Regions from separate parts of the Homo sapiens genome. Here all the other regions are linked to region 1. The links are contacts of gene promoters, found by promoter capture Hi-C in blood cells and fetal thymus (Javierre and others, 2016). All regions are on one chromosome and are shown on one strand. The core of a region is centred on a gene start or on the middle of the fragment in contact, and the rest is flanking DNA. Distances in the headings are between cores, read along the strand shown. Region 1 holds the start of LNCRI (lncRNA radiation induced regulator of PLK1 and RAD51). Region 2 overlaps MAD1L1 (mitotic arrest deficient 1 like 1). Region 3 overlaps MAD1L1 (mitotic arrest deficient 1 like 1). Region 4 overlaps MAD1L1 (mitotic arrest deficient 1 like 1).

Region 1 (2,565 bases), core at 27-2,526:
ACAGGTGTCCACCACAACGCCCGGCTAATTTTTGTATTTTTTAGTAGAGACGGGGTTTCTCCATGTTGGCCAGGCTTGTCTTGAACTCCTGGCCTCAGGTGATCTGCCCGCCTCAGCCTCCCAAAGTGCTGGAATTACAGGTGTGAGTGGCCGCGCACGGCTGCACAGTTTTCAAAGTGGGGTTCATGGGCTTGGCGGGCTGAGTCTGCTCCTGCCTCCCAGCGAGACTCGCCCAGGCTTGTGCCAATGGTCCTGCTCCTGCCCTTTAGGGAGTGCCCTCGACGCGGACACCTGAGCCCTGAGCTGCAGCCCTGGAGGAGGAGGACGCAGCTGGTGCTGGGAAGGGCTGGGAGGCCGGCCACGCACCTGGCACGCTACTACTTCCTGGGGTTCTCAGGCAGGAGCAGGGTCCTGGTGGCCTTCCTGGTGGATGGACAGAACCCTCACAGCCCCAGCGGGCTGCGCATGAGCTCTGGAGCCACAGAGCAGGTCCCACCATGTGCCTGTCGGCCACGTCTGCTGCCTGGCACAGCCACGTGCATCCGGAGCCGTCTGCAGCGTAACTCAAAGTGAGGGGGATGGGCACATGTGCACGACGCCCGACGCCCCTCTGCAGCACTCAACAGGGAGGGCAGGGAGCTGGAATTTGTCCCAGCTGGGCACAGGCTGCTGTTGGCAGCCAGGGTCAGGGAGACTCTCAGAGTCCCCCACTTCTGTGGAACAGACAGTTTCTTTGGTTCTGGAATTAAACTATTAATAGCAGTGGAGATCAAGAAACTCAAGTGCAGGGCAGCTGACAGGTGGTCTCGAATGCACCCTGGAGGGTGTGCAGCCAGCAGCCCTCAGAGTCAGTCTAAGTTTGGCAAAGGACCGCTGTGCGGGCCAGGCATGGTGACAGTGACGTCTTGGTGTCAGGGCCTCCTGTCTCATACCCTCGCTCCTGCAAGGGCCTCTGCACCTGGGCAGGTGGGCGTCTGGGTGCTGGGGGAGCTGACTCCTTCAAGGAGATGGTTTCCTGTCTCAGGGAGGTGGGGGGTACCCCTGGGATCTGCTTCTAGGGGCATAAGCTCCGGCCTATTGAGTGACTGATGGACCAGAGCTCTATCTTTCTAGAAGGCCTGGGAGAAGCCAGGAATCCCCTCCCGGAGCCTCACCCCACTCCTCCCTCCAGCCATCCTCCTCCAGCTCTTTGTGACATCACTGCCGTTGCCATGGGAACCCTGCCAACTGAGCGGATGACTTCACAGGAGGATGGGAGGCGCTGGGCTGGGCCGGCCTGGGTCTCGCAGCAAAGGTCTTTGATAACCAGCAAAACGGCAAAGGGAGGCAGGAAAACCACCCGCAGGGAGGCCAGTGTGGGTTTAAGGTGATGGCATTCCCCAGCCCTGCCCGGCACCGGCCTCCCAAGCCTGGGACCTGGGGGCTCCCTGCCTCCTTCCAGATGGAGGTGGGCATGGTGGAGTGTGAGGGGCCTGGGTCTGCCGGGGCTGGCTGGGGAACCCTGGCTGGAGCTGCTTCAAGCCTCGGTTTCTCTTTCTAGGAAGTGAGACCAGGACCACAGACTGGGCGCTCCCTGCTGAGTCTGTGGCCCTGAAGGCTGTTCAGCTCTAAGCGTCGGTGCACGGACAGGCCAGACAGGGCTGTATTGCTCCAATCGCCCTGCAAGAATCACAGCCAGACGGGGGCTTCCCGAGTGCTGCCCACCTTGCCGGCACGCAGGAGGAGGTGGCATGGACTGGGGAGGAGGAAGCACTCTCACTCCTGCTGGAGCCTCTGCCCAGGAACCCCGATTGGCCCAGCCGTCCCTGGGGAGGCCCATCCCACGTGTCCCGCACCCCGTGTCTGTCAGCACTGATCAGGGTCTCCCAGACACCTGCTCTGGGGTTGCCATGGGGACGAGCGGGAGGGTGAGTGTGGCGCACACAGCTGTCTGTAGACACACAGAGGGCATGCACGCATGTGTCTGTGCTCACCTGCATGTGTTCACACGGACTGGGCACCGCCGGAGGTGTTCACACAGCGGTGTACACCGACCCCTCTGCAGATGTGCACACACCCAGCAAGGCTACGTCCACAGGCGTGTATGTGTTCTTGCACCAGGAAGTGGGTCACGCCCCACACCACACATCGTATACTCTGTCCCTGCGGCACGCACCTGTCTGGGTGCACCAGGCAGTCTAAGCCCATGTCACCTATGTGTACACATATGTGCACATACCTACTCAGGCACACCAGTGTGTGTACACGGCTGTCCAGGCACACTGGGCAGTCCAAGCCCACGCCTGCCCAGACTCTTGGAATCGGGCACTTTCTGAGGCTGCCCCGATGGGCGTTCCTTTCCCCAGCCAGTACATCCTCTCTTCCTAACCCCACGTCTGCTGGACTCTTAAGGTGTCCACGCGGCCATGAACATCTCCAGGGCCTGCACTGCCCACTACCAGGACCCCAGCGGAACCCAGCATCTGGTCACTAGGGGTCTGCATGGGCAGTCACTTCCTGGGGGCCTGCACCCCTTAAGGAGGGTGAAGGACGGGCCAGCCCAGCTGGGGCTGAATCCTCACAGCC
Region 2 (2,565 bases), core at 42-2,541, 500 kb before region 1:
TGGTTTCCGTTGTCTGGGAGGCACCCCTGCCCGTGCCAGGCGGGGCACTGCGGGGGCGCGGATGCGGAGTGGAAGACTGCTGATTTAGGAATCGAAACTCCAGGGACATCCGTGTAGCAGAGTGATTCTAAGATGATTAAGAAAACCATCAATGATTTAAAGAAAGTGTTCACTGCAGTCCTTATTGAGCGGTTTGCCGCGTGCAGGGCATGTGGGGGTGGCGCACCAGGCTGCAGGCGCCCTTCATGACGGCAGGCAGGGGACCTCCTAGGAGTCTTGGCTGTGACACGTGAGGTATGAAGGCCAGAAAGGTGAACGTGTGGAATCTGTGACCCAGAAGTAACAAACTCCTTTCTTGGAGAGCAGTTAGGTATTCCATTCCTTAGTCCATATGCCAACATTTAAAAAGGCCAAAACCAGAGGCCTAGAAAATGTATCTGGAAGTTGCAGTGAGACCGTTTTTGATCATTGTGGCCTTCCTGGGGCTCAGTTTCCTCGCTTTGCAAATGCCATTTTGGCAGGGATCTGCTGTGGGGCATCTCCGTGCAGGTGGAGCTGGAGTTGCGCATCTTTCTCAGGCTGGCATCATACAGGCCCCAGTGCACTCTGGCAGGGAGGGGCAGCCCCCTCCTGGATAGCCCCGCCCAAGGCCGGGAGGACTGTGAAGGGGGGATCCCACTGCCTGACCTCAGCCTGTCGGGCCCCACAGCGCGTCTCTCTGTGGACTGGTCGCCGGCTTCCTGTGGCCTGTGTGTCCTCCGAGTGGCTGGAGCTTTGGAACCCTATTCTGTAGCTTGGAGCTCCTGAGCCTCAAAGGGCAGGGGCCTGGTTCCTTGCCCATCCTTGCCCAGCCTGATGGCCTGTGCTTGTGGACTGTACATGGGCACCTGCTTTAACACCTGGAGGAGTAGGGGCTACCAAGAGCATGTGGCTCTGGGCCTCCCTGGGAGAGTCACTCAGCGGCAGGAGAACTGAGTGGGACACATCAGGGAGTGTCTGTCTCATGGACGCCTGTTGGCCTGCAGCCTGGAGAGGGGGCCTGAAGTGTGTGTTCCATGCTCTTGACCCCCAGGAAGCACTCGCCTCTGTTGAAAGCCTCGTGCCGCAGAGCGCGATTGCTGTCCCGGGTGGACGGCCATCACGGGCTCCTTGCTCCGGCGATGCCAGCGCTCCTGGTGTTGTGTGTGGCTGGCTCCCCCTTGTCTCAGCCCTGGGCTTAGAGCAGGCCAGGTGCTCAGGCAGTGGTTTTGTTGCTTGAAGGGGGGTGTGTACCTGGCTGCAGCCTGTGGAGAGCGTGAGTGGCTGGCAGAAGCAAAGGCGGGCTCTTGGGAGATGAGAGCAGGCAGCCGGCCTGGAGGCTTCCATGGGGCTGGTCAGCTCCTGCTGGCTCTTCCTGGCACAAATCCACGCTGGGCTGGGTGCCTTGGCTCACACCTGTAATCCCAGCACTTTGGGAGCCTGAAGTGGGAGGATCGCTTGAGCCTGGGAGTTCAAGACCAGCCTGGGCAACACTGTGAGACCCTATCTCTATTTTTAAAAATAAAAATATAAAGATAACCCTTCCTCCAAAAAAAAAAAAAAAAACCCAAACTCATGGTGGACCTTGGGATGAGCGGGGGCGCTTGTGGGGCAGAACTGGGTGTGGTTGCCCCGTCCTGGGCCTGTTCCCAGGCCTGCTCTTAGAGGAGGGGCTGATGGGCCCTGTGGGTGCAGGGAGATGGGGTCAGTCACAGGCTGGGGCCTGGGGGCTGGGACCTGGGGGCTGGGACCCGGGGGCTAGGACCAGTTTTGGCTCTCAGGCAGGGAGGGGTTGTGAACTCTGTTTTGGGAATGTGTGTTTGAAGTGTCAGTGATGTAGCCAGAAGGAGGTGTCAGACAGCAGCCGATGTCAGGCCTGCATGGCTCCTAGAGGAGCCCTAGGGCTGGCCTGCCCAGTGAGGGGCAGGGATGAGCCGGCCTAGGGGAGTGGCAGAGCCAGAGGAGCAGACAGCTGGCCCGAGTCTGGAGGGATTTTGGCGTTTGCAGGTGGCTTTGAGCCTGAGGGCCAGTGCCTCACCGGGTCAGAGAGCTCTGCAGCCCGCCAGTCCTGGTCGTGCCTGTGTCCGAGCTTGGGCCCGTGTGCAGGGAGAAGGTGGCTGTGCAGTGCACGTCGTGTGTACCAGGCGTCGGCGGAGTGATGCGTGGGTCGGGGCGGGAGATGAGAGGAGGAGTGAGGAGAGGCTAGAAGCCTCCAGAGCAGTGGGGTTTCTTCCTCTTCTTCACTGGTGAGTGCTTCTTGAACACATAGGTGTGCAGGCCTGGTGCTGGGTGCTGGGGATACAGCTATAAGTCAGGGGCTGTTTTCCAGTCCTCTCAGATCTAGCCGGGCATATGTCTGCTAGGTCAAGCGTGGCTCCTGAAGAGATGACACTTGAGAGGCTGGCAGCATGTTCCAGATAGGGTGGGTGCTGGCAGCACACAGGTTGGCCAGATGCTGCGTGTTCGGACAGTGTTGTGTGGCTCCAGCTGGTTCTAACCACAGTTCTCCTGGGATGTGGCAGAAGCTGGACAGGTTGGCAGGGATCT
Region 3 (2,565 bases), core at 19-2,518, 460 kb before region 1:
CCTTTAAGGATGTCCTGGCCTTCCCTCTGTCTCTGCAAGTAGAGTAGACTGGTCCCGTGTGACGTTCTTGAAGGCTGTCATCGAGCTCACTGTGCTTGTGCTTTTGAGTGGAAGCTGAACCCTGGTCATGAGCAAGAATGGCCAGACAGGGCTCGTGAGGCTTGGTTTAGCCAAAGTGGTGACTGCGGGTTTTTCAGCGCAAGAGGCTGCGAAGGGAGGGATTCCTTCTGGTGCCCCTGTGCCCTCCAGCGGCTTCTGCCCGTGGGAGGTGTTGGGCACGGCTGCCCCTGTGGTTGGAGGGCTCTGGAATAGCAAGCCCTGCAGCTTCAGTCCTCCCTATGATGGGGGCCTGGTCGCATGGGGACTGAGAGCCGGCAGGGATCTGGGGGCCTAGGGATGTGGCCAGCAAGTATCCAGGCTGAGAGCCCATCACGTGACAGTGCTCCCGAGGGCTGGGGTCTGTGTGGGACCATCCGCCTCAGGCGCCAGCCTTCTGCCTCAGGGCAAGCCATGCTCTCTGTTCCTGCCTGGGGCAGGACAACTCCAGGTCACACCCACCTCAGGCAAGGAGGAGCGTGCAGGGGAGCCACCCGGAAGCAGCCTCCTGCAGAGTCGGTGGGAATGTGGAGAGCCAGCCTGCTCCTTGGGTGATGGAGATGGATGCCCCGGGGCTCCAGAGTACTCAGGTTTCTCCTGTGGCCCATCAGTGCCAGAATGAGGCGTTGACCCCATGACATGAGACAGAGGCCTTCCTGGGTGACGTAGGAGACTGCCTGGTGCGTGTGCCATCTGTGGGCGCCCAGCACTTCAGAAGAGAGCTCTGTCACTGTCACTTTTCAGTTGATTTGAACCACTCCCATTTCCCCCCTCATTGCTAAATGGTTGCATTTATCATGGTCTTGGCATCACTGGGAATCGCAGAACATGGTTAGCAGAGCCTGGCCCTCTGAGATCTTACCCCAGCTCCCAGCTTTGCTGGGTGGGTTCGTACCTTGGGGCAAGAAGCTTGTTTCTAAATCGGTGTCAAATGCTCCTGACCCTGCCTTCTGCTCTGCAGGCTGCAGGGAGGCTTCCCCACAGAGGGAGGTGGCAGGCAGTGTGCCCTCTGGTGAGAGAGAACCATCCCAGCTGGGAGAACCCTGGGGCCTGGTACTGCCTGCCAAATGCCTCTCCACTGGCCTCCTGCTGTTTCAGGTCCAGTGACATGTGAGGTCCCTGAGGGGTGTGAGGCGGGGTGGTCTTGGCTGTGTAGGTGGAGCCTGTAGCCTGCCGCCTGTGACCACCCCACCTGCCGCTGGTTCTGGGCACAGGGGCTGGGAGGCGCCGTTGCAGATGTGGATATATGCGATTTTTATTTATTTGTTGTAAATAAATTCTTTGCACTGAGTTAGTGAAAATTTACAAGCCCCTTTGATTAATGCAAAACAACTTAAATATCTCATTCAAATGTTTCAGAAAAAATATCTCTTGGCTTGGAAAGGTTTCCTTACTTTCGTACTGATATTTTTAACTCCCTGAGGTTGGAAGCTTTGGGAAACTGGAGAGAATGGTCACGGCGTTCAAGGGCAGCTGCACCTTTCATCTCTGTCCTAGAGTTCAGTTTCTCTTCCAAGGTCTTTCAGTCATAAATGGTTTTTCCACGGAGCTGCTTTCTAACCCCGGTTTGCCTGTGTGTGTGAGGACAGATGGGGTCTCCCCGGTGCCAGCTACTCCTTCTGCACCCATCGCTGTCCCCACTAGATGTTCAGCAAGGGGCCTGTTCTTTGGGTGGGCAGAGGAGGCCTCTCTGGGGGACGTGGAAGGGAGAAGGCCGTGGCGTGCTCTGTGTGAATTGGCTGTGGTCAGAGGGAGGGCTTATGACCAGCCCTGGGTGTGTGTGAGGGCTCAGGGCCTGGGCCAGGCCGCAGGACATCTGCTCACAGGCTCTTGGTAGCTTTGTTCCAGTGATGGAAGACACTCCAGAAACACCAAACTAATGCTGGGCAAGGCGGCCTCCAGCTGTCCTCTGTGCCGTGCAAAACAGGCATGGGATGGCGAGGGGCGTGGGGGTGGCCAGAGACACTGTAAGGAAGTGGCCCTTCCTCTGTTTGGAGGAGGAGCTGGGTGCTGGAAGACCGGGGGAGGGGCTGTGTGAGCGCTGGATGAGCTGATGAGGGTTTCGGGGGCCCATGGGTAGGGTGCTCAAGTGACAGGAAAGGTCAGTGGCTGTCTCAGGGCAGAGTCTGGTCGGGCCCAGTGCGTGAGGTTTGCAGCGTGCGCGTTTTAGGCAGCAGGATGGCTTCTGTTAGGGGTCCGTGGTTGCAGTGTGCCTCTCCGTGGCCGTGGCTGACTCGCAGAGAGGAGCTCCCGGGCAGGCTGCTGGGAGGGTGTGCCCGGGATCCACCCGAGGCTGCTCTGGGGGCCTGGCTGACAGAGTGACTGGGACCTCTCCTTCCAGGGGTGCAGGTAGCCTCCTTGGCCAATGTCGGGGTCCCCGTTGCTCATTCAGTGGTGCGGTGCGGGCTCCCTGAGTGGGGCTGGGTGGGGCTCTCACAGCATTGCCAGCGCCTGCTTTCTATGTGGACC
Region 4 (2,565 bases), core at 41-2,540, 440 kb before region 1:
ATTCTAAAGTTTATATGGGAAGGCAAAAGATGGCAATGGCCAGCACAACACCAGTGAACAACACCGGAAAACTGACACTCCCCGACCTCAAGACTTAGCGTAAAACCACAGTGATCAAGGTGGTGCGCTGTTGATGGAAGAATGGACGAACAGGTCTGTGGAACAGGTCAGAGAGCCACGAGATAGACCCACACAGATATACTCGGCTGATCGTGGACCGCAGAGCAAAGGCAGCTCAGAGGAAAACGGTCTTCTCAGCAAATGGTGCTGGAACAGCGGAACAGCCACAGGGGAAAAATCTAGACACAGACCTTACACCTTCCTCAAAAATCAACTCAGAGTGGATCACATACCTGAGTGTAAAGCACAAAACTTTAAAACTCCTAGAAGATAGCGGCGGAAATATCTAGCTGACTCTCAATTAGGCAGTGACTTTTAACGTACAACACCAAAGGCACAGTCTGAAAGAATTGATGAGATGGACCTCGTTAGAGTTGGAAATGGCTGCTCTGCGAAGGAAACTGTTGAGAATAAAAGGAGAAGCCCCAAATGGAGAAAATATTTTTCACCGTCATGCAAAAGACATATCTGATAAGGGCTGTTATCCAAATTATACAAAGAACTCTTCAAACTCAGTGGTAAGGAAACAGACCACCCAATTAAAAAATGGGTGAGCTCTGAACAGGCGCCTCACCAAAGCAGACACGCGGGTGACGGAGAAGCACGTGCGGAGATGCTCAGCATTGAAAATGGGTGAGCTCTGAACAGGTGCCTCACCAAAGCAGACACGTGGGTGACGGAGAAGCACATGAGGAGATGCTCAGCATTGAAAATGGGTGAGCTCTGAACAGGTGCCTCACCAAAGCAGACACGTGGGTGAAGGAGAAGCACATGAGGAGATGCTCAGCATTGAAAATGGGTGAGCTCTGAACAGGTGCCTCACCAAAGCAGACACGTGGGTGACGGAGAAGCACGTGAGGAGATGCTCAGCATTGAAAATGGGTGAGCTCTGAACAGGCGCCTCACCAAAGCAGACGCAGGAAGGGGGAGAGCAGGGAGACGCCAGGCTCCCTGTAACAATCATCTCTCCTGGTAACTGATGAAGTGAGGACTGCTCTTCAGCATGAGCCGTCATGAGGGACCCACCCCCATGGCCCAAACCCCTCCTCTCAGGTCCTGCTTCCAATCGTGGGGATCAGTTGTCAACCTGAGATTTGGAGGGGTCGGGAACCACACAGTAACAGTGTCCTTCCATGGGTGAATGGATAAAAGATGGTATGTCCATTCACTCAAATACTGTTCTGAGCTAAAAAGAAATGAGCTACCAAGCTGTGAAAAGACGTGGAAGAATCTTAAATATATATTGCACAGTGAAAGAGGACAGTCTGCAAAGGCGGTGTACTGTGGGATTTCTCCTCCGTGGTATTCTGGAAAAGGCAGAACTGTGGACACAGTAAAAAGATCGGTGGTTGCCAGGGATGGACAAGAGGGATGCGCAGGCGGACCCAGAGGATTTTTGGGGAATGAACCTACTCTTCACGCGGCCGTGATGGTGGACACGCAGTCGCACGCAGCAGTGGACCGACTGCACGCGGCCGTGATGGTGGACGCGCGGTCGCACGCAGCAGTGAACCGACTGCACGCGGCCGTGATGGTGGACGCGCGGTCGCACAGGGACTGCAGACATGCGTTCGTCTAAACCCGAGAATGTAAGACATGACAAGTGAGCCCACGTGTCCACTGTGGACTTGGGTTCATCAGTTGTAATGAATGGACTGCAGTCGTGCACGGTGCAGGGGAATCTGCCTGGGGGCTGAAGGGTAGATGAGAACTCTCATTTCTCCTCAGTTTTCCTGTAAACCTATAATTGCTTGAAAAAAGAATATCTGTAAATTTAAAACAAAAATTAGCAAGTAAGATGAGGCTAGAGAGAGCTGTCCCAGGGGTCAGATTGAGACAAAATGCAGTTGGGGCCAGCTTCCTCCTGAGTCAGCCTCACTGACTGCTTGGAGAAGAGAGGGACCACGCTGAGCGTCAGGAGGCAGCGCCGCGGCGGGTCTACGAGGCACATCTTTCACCAGCCTTTCCATTAGAGGCACCTGAGCAGCCCTCCATCATTTCACGTGTGCATGGTCAGGCCCTTGTGGGGGGCTCACAGGACTTGTGTGACTGCCAGTTGCCGAAAGAAGGAAGCAGGTCCCTTGTCATGACCAGAGAGACCCCAGGTGCGATGGCTGTCACATCCTGCTGACCTTCCCAGCCTGAGCCAGCTCGGGCCAGGGTGAGGACAAGGGCTGATGGGGGCTGAAGGGCACAGAGCACCCCTGGGGAGGCGTGTGGGCCTGGGGGACACACCTGAGCTGTCCCTGTTGCTGCTCTCTGGATGAGAACCTGGGGGCCCAGCTGGTGCAGGCACGAATGTTCCAGCACATTTGTGAGGATGAGCTGGGAGGCCTTGAGCAAGGACACCATCAGTGCCTGCGCAGAGGTCCCCTGGGACTGACAAGCTCGTCGGGGAACAGAAGCAGCGCTTTGAATTTTAAATTGGTTAAATTCCTTTTCCTG

Evidence for each region. The method cuts DNA at HindIII sites, captures the fragments that hold promoters and counts their contacts. A CHiCAGO score of 5 or more calls a contact.
Region 2: a contact is called between a fragment that was not itself captured here and the fragment with the promoter of LNCRI in region 1, in 11 of 17 cell types (M2 macrophages, M0 macrophages, erythroblasts and 8 more). The highest score is 12.2, in M2 macrophages.
Region 3: a fragment that was not itself captured here is called in contact with the fragment with the promoter of LNCRI in region 1 in 4 of 17 cell types (M1 macrophages, M2 macrophages, M0 macrophages and 1 more); the score reaches 8.1 in M1 macrophages.
Region 4: a contact is called between a fragment that was not itself captured here and the fragment with the promoter of LNCRI in region 1, in 2 of 17 cell types (M0 macrophages and M2 macrophages). The highest score is 6.7, in M0 macrophages.

The regions. Positions count from the first base shown.
Region 1 is chr7:1,693,061-1,695,625 of GRCh38, reverse strand. It overlaps LNCRI (lncRNA radiation induced regulator of PLK1 and RAD51), which reads left to right and starts at 1,276. Exons shown (of 4, transcript XR_007060188.1): 1 at 1,276-1,366; 2 at 1,541-2,565. All of the region lies in intron 2 of ELFN1 (extracellular leucine rich repeat and fibronectin type III domain containing 1), which reads right to left. The HindIII fragment of the contact is 12,694 bases long and covers 1-2,565 here.
Region 2 is chr7:2,197,103-2,199,667 of GRCh38, reverse strand. All of the region lies in intron 10 of MAD1L1 (mitotic arrest deficient 1 like 1), which reads left to right. Among named protein-coding and RNA genes, the nearest start is that of MAD1L1, 35 kb to the left of the region's middle. The HindIII fragment of the contact is 6,509 bases long and covers 1-2,565 here.
Region 3 is chr7:2,150,048-2,152,612 of GRCh38, reverse strand. The region is part of intron 10 of MAD1L1 (mitotic arrest deficient 1 like 1); the gene reads left to right. Among named protein-coding and RNA genes, the nearest start is that of SNORA114, 62 kb to the right of the region's middle. The HindIII fragment of the contact is 522 bases long and covers 1,008-1,529 here.
Region 4 is chr7:2,131,480-2,134,044 of GRCh38, reverse strand. The region is part of intron 11 of MAD1L1 (mitotic arrest deficient 1 like 1); the gene reads left to right. Among named protein-coding and RNA genes, the nearest start is that of SNORA114, 44 kb to the right of the region's middle. The HindIII fragment of the contact is 3,614 bases long and covers 1-2,565 here.